2 separate regions of the Homo sapiens genome follow, and region 1 is linked to region 2. Evidence: promoter capture Hi-C in 16 types of primary human blood cells and fetal thymus (Javierre and others, 2016). All regions are on one chromosome and are shown on one strand. Each heading gives the region's core, a stretch centred on a gene start or on the middle of the fragment in contact. The rest is flanking DNA. Distances are from core to core; before and after follow the strand shown. Region 1 overlaps CELF5 (CUGBP Elav-like family member 5). Region 2 holds the start of TLE6 (TLE family member 6, subcortical maternal complex member).

Region 1 (6,948 bases), core at 1,292-3,791, 260 kb after region 2:
AGGAATATTGAATGACTCTGAGCTAGGCATGGCAGGGAGGGGAAGGACAAAAATGAATCTAGGCCAGGCGCGATGGCTCACGCCTACAATCCCAGCACTTTGGGAGGCCGAGGTGGGTGATCACCTGAGGCCAGGAGTTTGAGACCAGCCTGGCCAACATGGTGAAACCCCATCTCTACTAAAAATACAAAAAACTAGCTGGGTGTGGTGGCGGGCCTGCACCTGTAATACCAGCTACTTGGGAGGCCGAAGTGGAAGAATCGCTTGAACCCGGGAGGCGGAGATTGCAGTGAGCTGAGATCGCGCCACTGCACTCCAGCCTGGACGACAGAGCAAGACTCCATCTCAAAAAAAAAAAAAAAAGTAAAGTAATAAAGAATGGCTACTCCGGCCAGGCGTGGTGGCTCACGCCTGTAATCCCAGCACTTTGGGAGGCCGAGACGGGTGGATCACGAGGTCAGGAGATCGAGACCATCCTGGCTAACACGGTGAAACCCCATCTCTACTAAAAATACAAAAAATTAGCCGGGCATGGTGGCAGGAACCTGTAGTCCCAGCTACTCGGGAGGCTGAGGCAGGAGAATGGCGTGAACCTGGGAGGTGGAGCTTGCAGTGAGCCGAGATCACGCCACTGCACTCCAGCCTGAGTGACAGAGCACGACTCCGTCTCAAAAAAAAAAAAAAAAAAAAAAAAAGGAAAGTAATAAAGAATAGCTACTGCATAGAGCAGCCGCCTGGGCTGCTTGTTGGCAGTTTTTATGGTTACTCCTTGACCATATGCTAAACAAGAGGTGGATTATTCATGAGTTTCCCGGGAAAGGGGTGGGCAGTTCCTGGAGCTGAAGGGTCCTCCACTTTTAGGATAATTTGCAGACGTTGCCATGGCGTTTGTAAACTGTCGTGGCGCGGGTGGGAGTGTCTCTTAGCATGCTAATGCATTATAATTAGCATGTAATGAGCAGTGAGGATGACCAGAGGTCACTTTCACCCCCATCTTGGTTTGAGTGGGTTTTGGCAGCTTATTTACCACATCCTGTTTTATAAGCAGGGTCTTTATGACCTGTATCTTTTGATACCGTTCTGCCAACCTCCTATCTCATCTCGTGATTAAGAATATCTAACTTGAGGCCGGACGCGGTGGCTCACGCCTGTAATCCCAGCACTTTGGGAGGCCGAGGCGGGTGGATCACGAGGTCAGGAGATCGAGACCATCCTGGCTAATACAGTGAAACCCCGTCTCTACTAAAAAATACAAAAATTAGCCGGGCCTGGTGGCGGGCGCCTATAGTCCCAGCTACTCGGGAGGCTGAGGCAGGAGAATGGCGTGAACCCAGGAGGCGGAGCTTGCAGTGAGCCGAGATCACGCCACTGCACTCCAGCCTGGGTGAAAGAGAGAGGCTCTGTCTCAAAAAAAAGAGAATATCTAACTTGGCCGGGCGCCATGGGTCACGCCTGTAATCCCAGCACTTTGGGAGGCCAAGGCAGATGGATCATTTGAGGTCAGGAGTTCAAGACCCAGCCTGGCCAACATGGCGAAACCCCCTCTCTACTAAAAATAAAAAATTAGCTGGGCAGTAGTGGCAAGAGTTGTAATCCCAGTTACCAAGCTCCTATTCAAGATGGAGTTGCTCTGGTTCAAACGCTTCTGACAGTACTTCCCTCTGATATCCCCCAAACCCTGAGATCCCGCAGGGCCCAAACCAGGGTTCATGTCTTTCTTCCAAAGTGCACCTCCTCCTGGGTTCCTACCTGGGTTTGTTGTCCCAGGGCTTTTGTAACAAATGACCACAAACTGGGGGGCTTGGAACAGCCTCTCCCAGTCCTGGAGGCCAGAAATCAGCTATCAAGGTGTGGGTAGGGCCTCACTTTCTCCAAGGGGAGGGTCCTTCCTGCCTCTTCAGCTTCTGGGGACTCCGGGTGTCCTTGGCTGATGGATGCATCACTGTGGTCTCTGCTCCATCATCTGTGCGTCTGCGTCTCCTCTCCTCTGTGTTATAAGGACACTTGAGGCCGGGTGTGGTGGCTCACGCCTGTAATCCCAGCACTTTGGGAGACCGAGGCAGGTGGTTCACTTGAGGTCAGGAGTTCGAGACCAACCTGGCCAACATGACGAAACCCTGTCTCTACTAAAAATACAAAATTAGCAGGGTGTGGCGGCGGGTGCCTGTAATCCCAGTACTCAGGAGGCTGAAGCAGAATTGCTTGAACACAGTAGGTGGAGGTTGCAGTGAGCCAAGATCACACCATTGCACTCTAGCCTGGGCAACAAAGCGAGACTCCATCTCAAAATAAAAATAAAAAATAAAAATTAAGGATGCTTGTCCTTGTGTTTGGGGCCTGCCTTCATCTAGCTTGACTTCATCCCAAATTCCTTATTGAAATCTGCAAAGTCTCTTTTTCCAAATCAGGTCACATTTCAGGTTCCAGAGTGGCTATATCTTTTTTAAAATTTTATAAAATTAATTTTAATTTTTTTGAGACAGGGTCTCACTTTGTCACCCAGACTGGAGTGCAGTGGTATGATCATAGCTTGCTGCAGCCTCGACCTCCCAGGCTCAAGGGATCCTCCCGCCTCAGCCCGTTTAGTAGCTGGAACTACAGGTGTGAACCACCACACCCAGCTGTTTGTTTTTTTTTTATTAGAGACAAAGTCTCACTACATTGCCCAGGCTGGTGCAAACTCCTGAGCTCAAGCAATCCTCCCGCCTCAGCCTCCCAAGTAGCTGGGACTGCAAGTGTGTGCCACCATGCCCGGCTAATTGTTTTTAATTTTTACTGGAGATGGGGTCTCACTGTGTTGCCCAGGCTCGTCTCAAACTCCTGGGCTCAAGCCATCCTCCCACTTCAGCCTCCCGAGTACCTGGGACTACAGATGTGAGCCATCATGCCCGGCTAACTTTTTTTTTTTTTCAGTAGAGTTGGGGTCTCACTATGTTGCCCAGGCTCAGGATGGATGTAGCTCTTTTTCAGGGAGCCACCATTCAACCCATTACATCCTCACACCCTACCATCCAAGTGCATCCCAGCCATCCTTGCCTCCTCCCTCCCCTCCCCTCGTCCCCCACCAAAGCCCTACCTTAGATTTTCCTGTCTTTGTCCCCATGGCCCTCTGGGGTAGTCTTCACCTTCTCCCATACTGACCTTGACTCTGCCCCCTCACTGGCCTCCAGTCTTCTGTCCTGCACTCCAGTCCCTTCTTCGTGCTGGCCCCAGGAGGCTCTTTCCCGCACACACCTCTGACTATGCCCAACCCCTGCTCAAACACCTTCCATGGCTCCCCACTGCCCTTGACATCAGTCCAGCAGTTCTTTGCCTGTTTCACCCTCATCTGTCCCCTCCAATGGCATCCCCCATCTCCTGCAACACACTTTTTTTTTTTTTTTTGAGGCAAGAGTTTTGCTCTGTTGCTCAGGCTGGAGCGCAGTGGCGAGATCTCGGCTCACTGCAAACTTTACCTCCCAAGTTCAAGTGATTCTCCTGCCTCAGCCTCCTGAGTAGCTGAGTAGCTGGAATTATAGGTGCACGCCACCACACCTAGCCAATTTTTGTATTTTTAGTAGAGACGGGGTTTCATCATGTTGGCCAGACTGGTCTTGAACTCCTTACCTCAAATGATCCGCCTGCCTCTGCCTCCCAAAGTGCTGGTATTACAGGCATGAGCCACTGCACCTGGCCCTTCTTTTTCTTTCTTTCTTTTTTTTTGAGATGGGGTCTCACTCTGTCATCCAGGCTGGAATGCAGTGGCATAATCTCAACTCACTGCAACCTCTGCCTCCCGGGTTCAAGAGTCATTCTTGTGCCTCAGCCTCCTACGTAGCTGGGACTACAAGCATGAACCACCACACCCAGCTAGTTTTTGTATTTTTAGTAGAGAGGGGGTTTCACCGTGTTGGCCAGGCTGGTCTTGAACTCCTGACCTTAGGTGAGCCACCTGCCTCGGCCTCCCAGAGTGCTGGGATTACAGACGTGAGCCACTGCGCCCGGCCCTACCACACACTTCTGAAAGCCTATGTTCCACACACCAGGCAGGCTCTTGTTCTATGGCCCCAGCTCCAAGAATCATCCTTCAGGAAGCCGTCTCCAAGCAGAACCAGGTTGCCTTCAGAGCGTCCCCAGCCCTGCCTTTCTCTTGGCCCGGGCTGACCACACAGGGTGTGGAGGGGACAGGAGTGTCAGGCTCTGCCTCCTCCTAGCAGGAGGATCACAGAGAATCACTTCCCAAAAAAGAGCATTTTCCTGGGCTGGAGACTGGAGTGTCCTTTTGGGCTGAGGTCCCCAGCTGCCCGGGCTGGAGAAACTTATCCATTGAGCAGATCTCATGTTCCCCAAGGATCCCCCACCTTGATCCCCAATGTACCCTTGGTACCCTTGGGTCTCGAGAGATTTGTGTGCAGTGCATTGTCTATGAACTTGAAGATCAGTTCTTTTTTTTTTTTTTTGAGGCGGAGTCTTGCTCTGTCACCAGGCTGGAGCGCAGTGGCACCATCTTGGCTCACTGCACCCACCAACTCCCTGGTTCAAGCAGTTCTTCTGCCTCAGGCTCCCAAGTAGCTGGGATTACAGGCACGAACCACCACGCACAAGCCACCGCGCCCAGCTAATTTTTTTTTTTTGTATTTTTACTAGAGATGGGGTTTCACCATGTTGGCCAGCATAGTCTCTATCTCCTGACCTTGTGATCCACCCGCCTCTGCCTCCCAAAGTGCTGGGATTACAGGTGTGAGCCACCGCGCCCGGCCTAAAGATCAGTTCTTGTCCAGGCTTTGAAAATAGGGTGGGTGCAGATTGCCAATCACTGAGCATTCTGAACCATTGATCCCAGGTGGGACTTCCCTGTCTACCCCCTCCAGAACCCCAAGGCTCTCCAGGTGTGCAGCAAGGCTGCACACCTGCCTCTGGTGCCCTTGCCATCTGGGGCAGGTGTGTGGGGTGGGAGTGGCTGGGGCTGGGACACGGTGAGAGGCTCACCTGGCGTGGGTGGGGGATAAGCTGTGGCTCAGGCTGAGGCTTCCTTCAGGGGATCCCTCTGGGTCTAGGATGCAACCAACCAGAGCTCTCACAGTTGAAATGGGATCCACAGGGCCCTCAGCATTTGATCCAGCCCCGTGTTTCTGACAAAGGTGGCACTAGTTTGTTGTTGTTGTGTGTTTGTTTGAGACAGAGTCTCCCTCTTGCCCAGGCTGGAGTGCAGTGGCGCGACCTCGGCTCACTGCAACCTTATCTCCCGGGTTCGAGCAATTCTCCTGCCTCAACCTCCCGTGTAGCTGGGACCAGAGGCGCGCGCCGCCACGCCCAGCTAATTTTTGTGTTTTTAGTAGAGATGGGGTTTCACCGTGTTGGGCAGGCTGGTCTCAAACTCCTGACCTCAGGTTATCCACCTGCCTTGGCCTCGCAAAATGCTAGGATTACAGGCATGAACCACCATGCCCGGCCCAAGGTGGCACTATTTTAAGGTTATTTCTAGGGAAGCAGGTACGGCAAGAGGCTGTGTTCTTCCTCATATTCCTTGGGGGAGAATTTTGGAAAAGATGCGAAAGCCAGGCAGTGGATCTCAGCTGTTAGTGCATGGTCTGCAGAGCTAGACTACCTAGATTTAAGCCCTCGACATTTGGCCGGGCACGATGGCTCGCACCTGTAATCCCAGTGCTTTGGGAGGCTGAGGCGGGCAGATTACTTGAGGTCAGGAGTTCAAGACTAGCCCGGCCAACATGGTGAGACCCCGTCTCTACTAAAAAATACAAAAAATTGGCTGGGTGCAGTGACTCATGCCTGTAATCCCAGTACTTTGGGAGGCTGAGGTGGGCGGATCACTTGAGGTCAGCAGTTCAAGACCAGCCTGGCCAACATGGTGAAACCCTGTCTCTACTAAAAATACAAAAAAATGGCCGGGCGCAGTGACTCACACCTGCAATCCCAGCACTTTGGGAGGCTGAGGTGGGTGGATCATAAGGTCGGGAGTTCAAGATCAGCCTGGCCGAGATGGTGAAAATCCTGTCTCTACTAAAAATACAAAAATTAGACAGTCATAGTGGCAGGCGCCTGTAATCCCAGCTACTTGGGAGGCTGAGGCAGGAGAATCGCTTGAACTTGGGAGGCAGAGGTTACAGTGAGCCGAGATTGTGCCATTGCACTCCAGCCTGGGCAACAGAGCAAGACTCTATCTAAAAAAAAAATTAGCTGGGCTTGGTGGCAGGTACCTGTAATCCCAGCTACTCAGGAGGCTGATGAAAGAGAGTCATTTGAACCTGGGAGGTGGAGGTTGCAGTGAGGTGAGATGGTGCTGCTGCACTTCAGCCTGAGCAACAGAGCGAGACTCCATCTCAAATAATAATAATAATAATAATAATAAAGCCTGGACATTCTACTTACCACCTGTGTGACCTTGGGCAAGCCACTTCCCCTCTCTGTGCCCCCATCTCTCATCTGTAAAATGGGAACAATGCCAGCAGCTACTGCATAGGGGCTACTATGAGTATTAAATGATTCAGTATAGAGTATAAGCTTATTCTTTTCTTTTTCAGTTTTTTCTTTTTTTCTTTGGTTTTTAATTTTTTTGTTTTGGGGTATTTGTGTATGTGTGTGTTTTTTAATTTTTTTCTGAGTATAAGCTTATTAACATTAAATATCAATGGAGTTTTTTTGAGACAAGGTTTTGCTATGTCGCAAAACCTTGGCTGGAGCCAGGCTGGAACACAGTGGCACAATCATGCCTCACTGCAGCATCGACGGCCCAGGCTCAAGCGATTCTCCTGTCTTGACCTCCTGAGTAGCTGGGACCACAGGCACATGCCACAACACCCAGCTAATTTTTAAAATTATTTGCAGAGATGGAATTTGACTACGTTGCCTAGGCTGGTCTCGAACTCCTGGGCTCAAGCAATCCTTCTGCCTCGGCCTCTGAAGGTGCCGGGATTCCAGGTGTATGCCACCACACCTGGCCCAGTGGAC
Region 2 (6,693 bases), core at 363-2,862:
CCATGTTGGCCAGGCTGGTCTCGAACCCCTGACCTCAGATGATCCACCCACCTCTGCCTCCCAAAGTGCTGGGATTACAGGCGTGCACCACAGCACCTGGCCCAACGTGGTGATTTCTAAGTAGGGAGCTGAGGGAGTAAGGAGCCAGCCGGTGGCTGTCTGAGAGAGACTGTCCCTGGCAGAGTGAACTGCTAATGCCAGTACCAGGTCCTGGGCCAAACAGAAAGAAACGGGCTCTCACTCCAGAACTGCAGCTTGACCACTATATATATAATATATATACTTTATATATATTATAGCTATATATTTTTTTGAGATGGAGTCTTGCTCTGTTGCTCAGACTGGAGTGCAGTGGCACGATCATAGCTCACTCCAGACTCAACCTCCTGGGCTTACGCCATCCTCCTGCCTCAGCCTCCCCAGTAGCTGAGACTACAGGTGCATGACCACCACACTTGGCTAATTTTTAAATTTTTTGTAGAGACGCGGTGTCACTGTGTTGCCCAGGCTGGTCTCCAACTCCTGGCCTCAAGCAATCCTCCCACCTCAGCCTTCCAAAATGCTGGGATCACAGGTGTGAGCCATGGTGACTTGGCTTCATATTTTGAATAGGCCAAAACAAAACTCCGAAATCCCCTTACTCCTATCCCCACGACCCCACACAGCAGGTTTCTCTCGCTCTGCAGCAACCCACTTACCTCTCGGAAATCATCCCAGGCCTGTTCGGAGTGCACGCAGCCCCGTTAGCCTCCCTGGCTGCTCCTGTAACCAGCCCAGCTCTGCCTGAGAGGTTCCGCTATTCCCTCCGTCTGGAATACCCACCACTCTCTCCCACCCCGCGCTTGCATCCGGCAATACTGTATCAGCCTCAGGGCCTCTGCTGTCCCGCTTTCTGCTCTCAGAGCCTTTGTCACTGGGCTGGAAGAGCAGTTGGGAAAATTCGGTGATAAATGCATAGCCCGGGGCTGGGACCATCAAGGGGACCCAGTAAGTTGGCTCCAGAAAGAGGACTTGAAGCTTCGTTTGCATTGCACGTTATTTAATATTGAGGAAAATGTAATTAGCCCGTATCTAAGAATTGGGGTGACAGCGCTAAAGATTGAACCCACCCACCTCCCACTCCTCACCTCCAGCCATAAGCCACTTCCGGACAAGGCTAAAAATGCGTAAAACAATGCAACTACTCGCCACCTATCCCTGCCCAAGTTCCAGCCTCTGAGCCTCAAGCCCCACGCCCTCCTAAATATCCCCGCCCCCGCTGGGACCCCAAATTGCCTATAGCTCTGCAAGTCCGCCCTTCCCGGCAGCGGGACCGAAAGGGTAAAGCAGAGGCTCCCGGCTCGCTGAGTGACAGCATGGCCGGCGGCCGGGGAGAGCCGACCAATCAGGGAGGGCGTACGCGACCCACGTGCGTAAACGGCCTCGCTATTGGCCGGCGCCGCCAGAGGCCTGCCCCCCCCGGAGCCCGAACCCACGTGCAGCTACTGCGCCTTCATTGATCTGCTTCGCGGTCCAGGTGGCGGCTGGGTGGGGCCTGGGCGGGACGGGGCGGGGACAAGGCGGGACGAGGCGGGGCCCGATGGGTCAAATGGCCCCCGGTGGGGGAAGGAGGAGTTTCCTCTTGGCCTGAACTTGGCTGACCTCCGCAGCTTCCGCCCGGTGAGGGACGTGAGTTGCCAGGCGTGTTCTAGGGGGCTGGGGGGACTCCAGGATTCCCGGCCGGGGAAGGGGCTGCAGGGGCGTGGAGGGGCAGGACTGAGGCAAGGAAGAAGCTGGGTGCTGCAGCAGGGATGGAGGTGGAGAGAGGTCGTTTCTTCTGTCTGATGAATTCCGCCTAATGCACCTGGCTAACTCCTAGTCATCCTTCAAAACCCCTTTCTAGTGATCTCCCTGCGCTTTAGGAAATTGTCTCAAAACTAAGGTTGAGCTTTGGCGACCTTCCCTGGGCTCCCCCGTCCCTGACTGCCCCCAGCAGGGAGTGTATGTGCACTATCCACCCCAGCCTCCTAGGGTGAGGCCTGGGAGGCAAGGCTCAGTTCTTTCTGGGTCCCCGCCCCCATGAATCTGGGCAGCTGGAGGCATTGATAAGTGAGGACAGGACCTAGGGAACGCATGGGAGAACCGCAGGATTGGGTCCCTGGAGACTTACCAAACTGGGAGGTGCGGGTGGGGTAACGGGTGCCTTGCTTCCCTGGCACTGCCTTATTTTCTGTCCCTCAAGACCTGCCGTCTCCTTGTTGTTTTAGACTCTGGCTAAAGTCTTGGAGGCTACTGCCTTGAAGATGACCTCTAGGGACCAGCCCAGACCCAAGGGCCCCCCGAAAAGCACTTCGGTGAGGAGGGCATGTGGTGGGATCAGCCCTCAAGGGAAACCCGGGCCCAATGTGGTTCTGCCCCTTTTCCACCTGTGACCTGGGCTGGCCCCGCCCAGGCCTCGCAGCTGAAGACAATACTGGTCGCTGCTACACTCAAGACAGGTGCCAAGGAGCCGTGTTTTTTAAAAAAAATTAAGTGTAGGCTGGACACTGTGGCTCACAACTGTAATCTCAACATTTTTGGAGGCCGAGGCAGGAGGACCACTTGAGCCCAGGAGTTTGAAACCAGCCTGGACAACGTAGTGAGACCCTGTCTCTGTAAAAAATAAAACTAGAAGAATCAGCTGGGCCTAGTGACGTGGGCCTGTAGTTGCAGCTACTTGGGAGGCTGAGGCAGAGGGTTGGCTTGAGCCCAAGGAGTTTGAGGCTGCAGTGAACTATGATGGTGCCACTGCACTCCATCCTTGGTGACAGTGAGATCCCATCTAAAAAAAAATGTAGCATCTAATCACATATGTGATAAAAACACAGGAACACATCATGTATTTGGTTGATGTTTTACAAGCAATCCCCGCTCCCTGCACTTTGCGTCCCAGAGATGACCATTTGTAAATTTAGGCTCTCAGGGCTGAGCAGACGTTTTTTTTTGTAAAGGAGTCAGATGAGGGATATTTTGTTTTGAGACTTTATGATTTTATTATGTTTGAGACGGAGTCTCACACTCACCTCGGCTGGAATGCAATGGCGCAATCTCAGCTCACTGCAACCTCTGCCTCCCGGGTTCAAGTGATTCTCCTGCCTCGCCTCCCGAGTAGCTGGGACTACAAGCACCTGCCACCATGACCACCAAATTTTTCTTGTATTTTTAGTAGAGACTGGGTTTCACCATGTTGGCCAGGCTGGTCTCGAGCTCCTGACCTCGTGATCTGCCTGCCTCAGCCTCCCAAAGTGCTGGGGTTATAGGTGTGAGCCACCACACTTGGCCAAGAGACTTTATTTTATTGAGTCTTGCTCTTGTTGCCCAGGCTGGAGTGCAGTGGCGCGATCTCGGCTCACTGCAACCTCCACCTCCCAGGTTCAAGTGATTCTCCTGCCTCAGCCTCCCGAGTAGCTGGGATTACAGGTGCGCGCCACCACGCCCGGCTAATTTTTGTATTTTCAGTAGAGACGGGGTTTTGCTGAGTTGCCCAGGGTTGTCTCAAACTCCTGACCTCAGGTGTTCTGCTCACCTCGGCCTCCCAAAGTGCTGGGATTACAGGCATGAGCCACCTTGCCCGGACTTTTATTTTTAAAAATATTTTGTGCTTCTATTTTCATCACAAGAATGTGGTGAACATTTTAGACTTTAGGCCAAAGTGCAAAATGGAAGATGCTCTTTACTGAAATAAGAGAGGCCGGGCGCGGTGGTTCATGCCTGTCATTCCAGCACTTTAGGAGGCCGAGGCGGGTAGATCATGAGGTCAGGAGGTTGAGACCAGCCTGGCCAAGATGGTGAAACCCCATCTCTACTAAAAATACAAAAATAAGCCAGGTGTGTTGCCGGGGGCGGGCGGGGGAGGGGGGCGCGGGCGCATGTAATCCCAGCTACTCGGGAGGCTGAGGCAGGAGAATCGCTTGAACCCGGGAGGCAGAGTTTGCAGTGAGCTGAGATTGTGCCACTGCACTCCAGCCTGGGCGACAGAGCAAGACTCGGTTTCCAAAAAAAAAAAAAAAAGCAAAAACCACAATTACTTTTGCACCAACCTAATGCCTATGCCATGTTGAGGTGGAGACCGGGGGTCTTGGGTGTTGGAGCATTGTAAGTTTTATGTAACCTTGCTTTGACCTTTCCAGCCTTGTCCTGGGATCTCGAACTCTGAGAGCTCTCCGACGCTGAATTATCAGGGCATTCTAAATCGGCTCAAGCAGTTCCCCAGGTGAGAGCAATTCCAGGGGCCGGAGGTCTCACGCTGGGAAGGAGCCCCACCTGGCCTCTCTCCCGGGGGTCCTAGTGAGTGGTCTAGAGGCTGCTGGCCCAAGAGCCAGGCTCAGGAACAGGAAGCCATGCAGATACCCAGCATGGAGAACCCGGCAATACCCATCCCAGCTTTTGATTAAACAAAATTACCAACAAATATTAAAATTTTGATTTTCCTGTTCGACATGGATTTGTTGGCATTCAATTTTATTGTTGAAAAATACTGCAACGGCTGGGTATGGTGGCTCGCACCTGTAATCCCAGCACTTTGGGAGGCGGAGGCGGGCGGATTGCTTGAGGTCAGGAGATCAAGATCAGCCTGGCCAACATGGTGAAACCGCGTCTCTACAAAAAATACAAAAATCAGCCAGGCTTGGTGGTGGGTGCCTGTAATCCCAACTACTTGGGAAACTGAGGCAGGAGAATCTCTTGAACCCAGGAGGCGGAGGGTTGCAGTGAGCCAGGATCACACCATTACACTCAAGCCTAAGGCTACAGAGTGAGACTCGGTCTTTAAAAAAAAAAAAAAAAAAAAGTACTGCATGGGCTGGGTGCAGTGGCTTGCACTTGTAATCCCAGCACTTTGGGAGGCAGAGGCAGGAAGATCGCTTGAGCCCGGAGTTCAATACCAGCCTTGGCAACATAGCGAGATGCCATCTCTTAAAAAATAAAAAAAATCTAGCTGAGTGTGGTGGTGCACACCTGTAGTCCCAGCTACTCAGGAGACTGAGGCAGGAGGATCATCTGAGCCCAGGAATTGGAGGCTGCAGTGAGCCATGATTGTACCACTGCACCCTAGCCCGGGCAACAGGGTGAGATTCTGTTTAAAAAAAAAAAAATTGAAGAAAGTGGCGGGGCGCGGTGGCTCAAGCCTGTTGTAATCCCAGCACTTTGGGAGGCCGAGGTGGGCGGATCACCTGGAGTCAGGGGTTTGACACCAGCCTGGCCACCATGGTGAAACACTGTTTCTATTAAAAATACAAAAAAATAGCTGGGTGTGGTGGCAGGTGTCTGTAATCCCAGCTACTCGGGAGGTCGAGGCAGGAGGATCTCTTGAACCCAGGAGGCGGAGGTTGCAGTGACACTGCACTCCAGCCTGGGTGACAAGAGTGAGACTCTGTCTCAAAAAAAAAAAAAAAAGAATATACTGCATTAAAATCTTACTGAACTTCTTGACACTGCCTTAAATTTGGCTTCTGGAGCCAGTGCCTTCCAGCTTCATTGAGACCCTCCCTAGGGGTTGAGGGTGGGGCTCACTCTGGGGAGGGAGTCCTGAAGCCACAGGTCTTCCAGCCTGTCCTCCTTCCCCCTCAGGTTTTCTCCTCATTTTGCTGCGGAGTTGGAGAGCATTTACTACTCGGTGAGCCAGACCCAGGCAGCCCCAACCAAGGAGGGCCCCACTGGGACAAGCTGAGGCCCTGGTTTCCCGGCCCTGCCTCCTGAGTGCCCTAGAGAGGTTCTTTTCCGCCAAGCACTGTGCCTCACGCCTGTAATCCCAGCACTATGGGAGGGCGAGGCAGGTGGATCACCTGAGGTCAGGAGTTGGAGACCAGCCTGGCCAACATAGTAGAGACCCTGTCTCTACTAAAAATACAAAAATTAGCCGGGCATGGTGGCAGGTGCCTGTACTCCCAGCTACTCGGGAGGCTGAGGCAGGAGAATCGCTTGAGCCCAGGAGGCAGAGGTTGCGGTGAACTGAGATCACACTGTACTGCAGCCCAGGTAACAGAGCAAGACTCTCTCTGAGGAAAAAAAAGGTAGGGACCATACATCAGTGTAGTAAGAAAGTAAAAGAGAAAACAAGGTGAAAACAAAAATTTAAGGTGGGGGAGTAGGGGCCAGAGAGGTAGAGCAGCTTGCCCAGGGTCACACAGCATTCACACCCGGACCACCTCCCGATGGGATCTCTGTTTTCCCTTTGCAGCTGCACAAGATCCAGCAGGATGTGGCAGAACATCACAAGCAGGTGGGTGACCAGGAGCTCAGGGGTGCGGCTGTCCCTCCATGAAAGGCATGAGAAAGCACAGAGGGGGGCCGGGCACAGTGGCTCAAACCTGTAATCCCAGCACTTTGGGAGGCCGAGGAGGGTGGATCACTTGAGGTCAGGAGTTCGAGACCAGCCTGATCAACATGGTGAAACCCCGTCTCTACTAAAAATAAAAAAATTAGCCAGGCGTGGTGGCGGGCGCCTGTAGTCCCAGCTACTTGGGAGGCTGAGGCAGGAGAATTGCTTGAACCCGGGAGGTGGAGATTGCAGTGAGGCAAGATCGTGGAACTGCACTCCAGCCTGGGCGACAGCGAGACTCTGTCTCAAAAAAAAAAAAAAAAAAAAAAGGAGGTGGGGGATGGTGAAGACAGAGGACGAGGGGTAGGTCATGCTGAGCCTTGTGGGCCGTGGGAAGGACTTGGGCTTTGACCCCA

What was found. Contacts are between HindIII fragments. The CHiCAGO score rates a contact against its expected background, and 5 or more counts as called.
Region 1: a contact is called between a fragment that was not itself captured here and the fragment with the promoter of TLE6 in region 2, in 1 of 17 cell types (M2 macrophages). The highest score is 6.5, in M2 macrophages.

What each region holds. Positions count from the first base shown.
Region 1 is chr19:3,236,642-3,243,589 of GRCh38, forward strand. The region is part of intron 1 of CELF5 (CUGBP Elav-like family member 5); the gene reads left to right. Among named protein-coding and RNA genes, the nearest start is that of CELF5, 15 kb to the left of the region's middle. The HindIII fragment of the contact is 7,916 bases long and covers 1-6,499 here.
Region 2 is chr19:2,975,952-2,982,644 of GRCh38, forward strand. TLE6 (TLE family member 6, subcortical maternal complex member) reads left to right here and starts at 1,613. Exons shown (of 17, transcript NM_001143986.2): 1 at 1,613-1,659; 2 at 2,247-2,333; 3 at 4,149-4,231; 4 at 5,587-5,632; 5 at 6,197-6,238. The coding sequence starts at 2,283. RefSeq lists a silencer at 1,335-1,644 and an enhancer at 6,507-6,693. The HindIII fragment of the contact is 27,309 bases long and covers 1,016-6,693 here.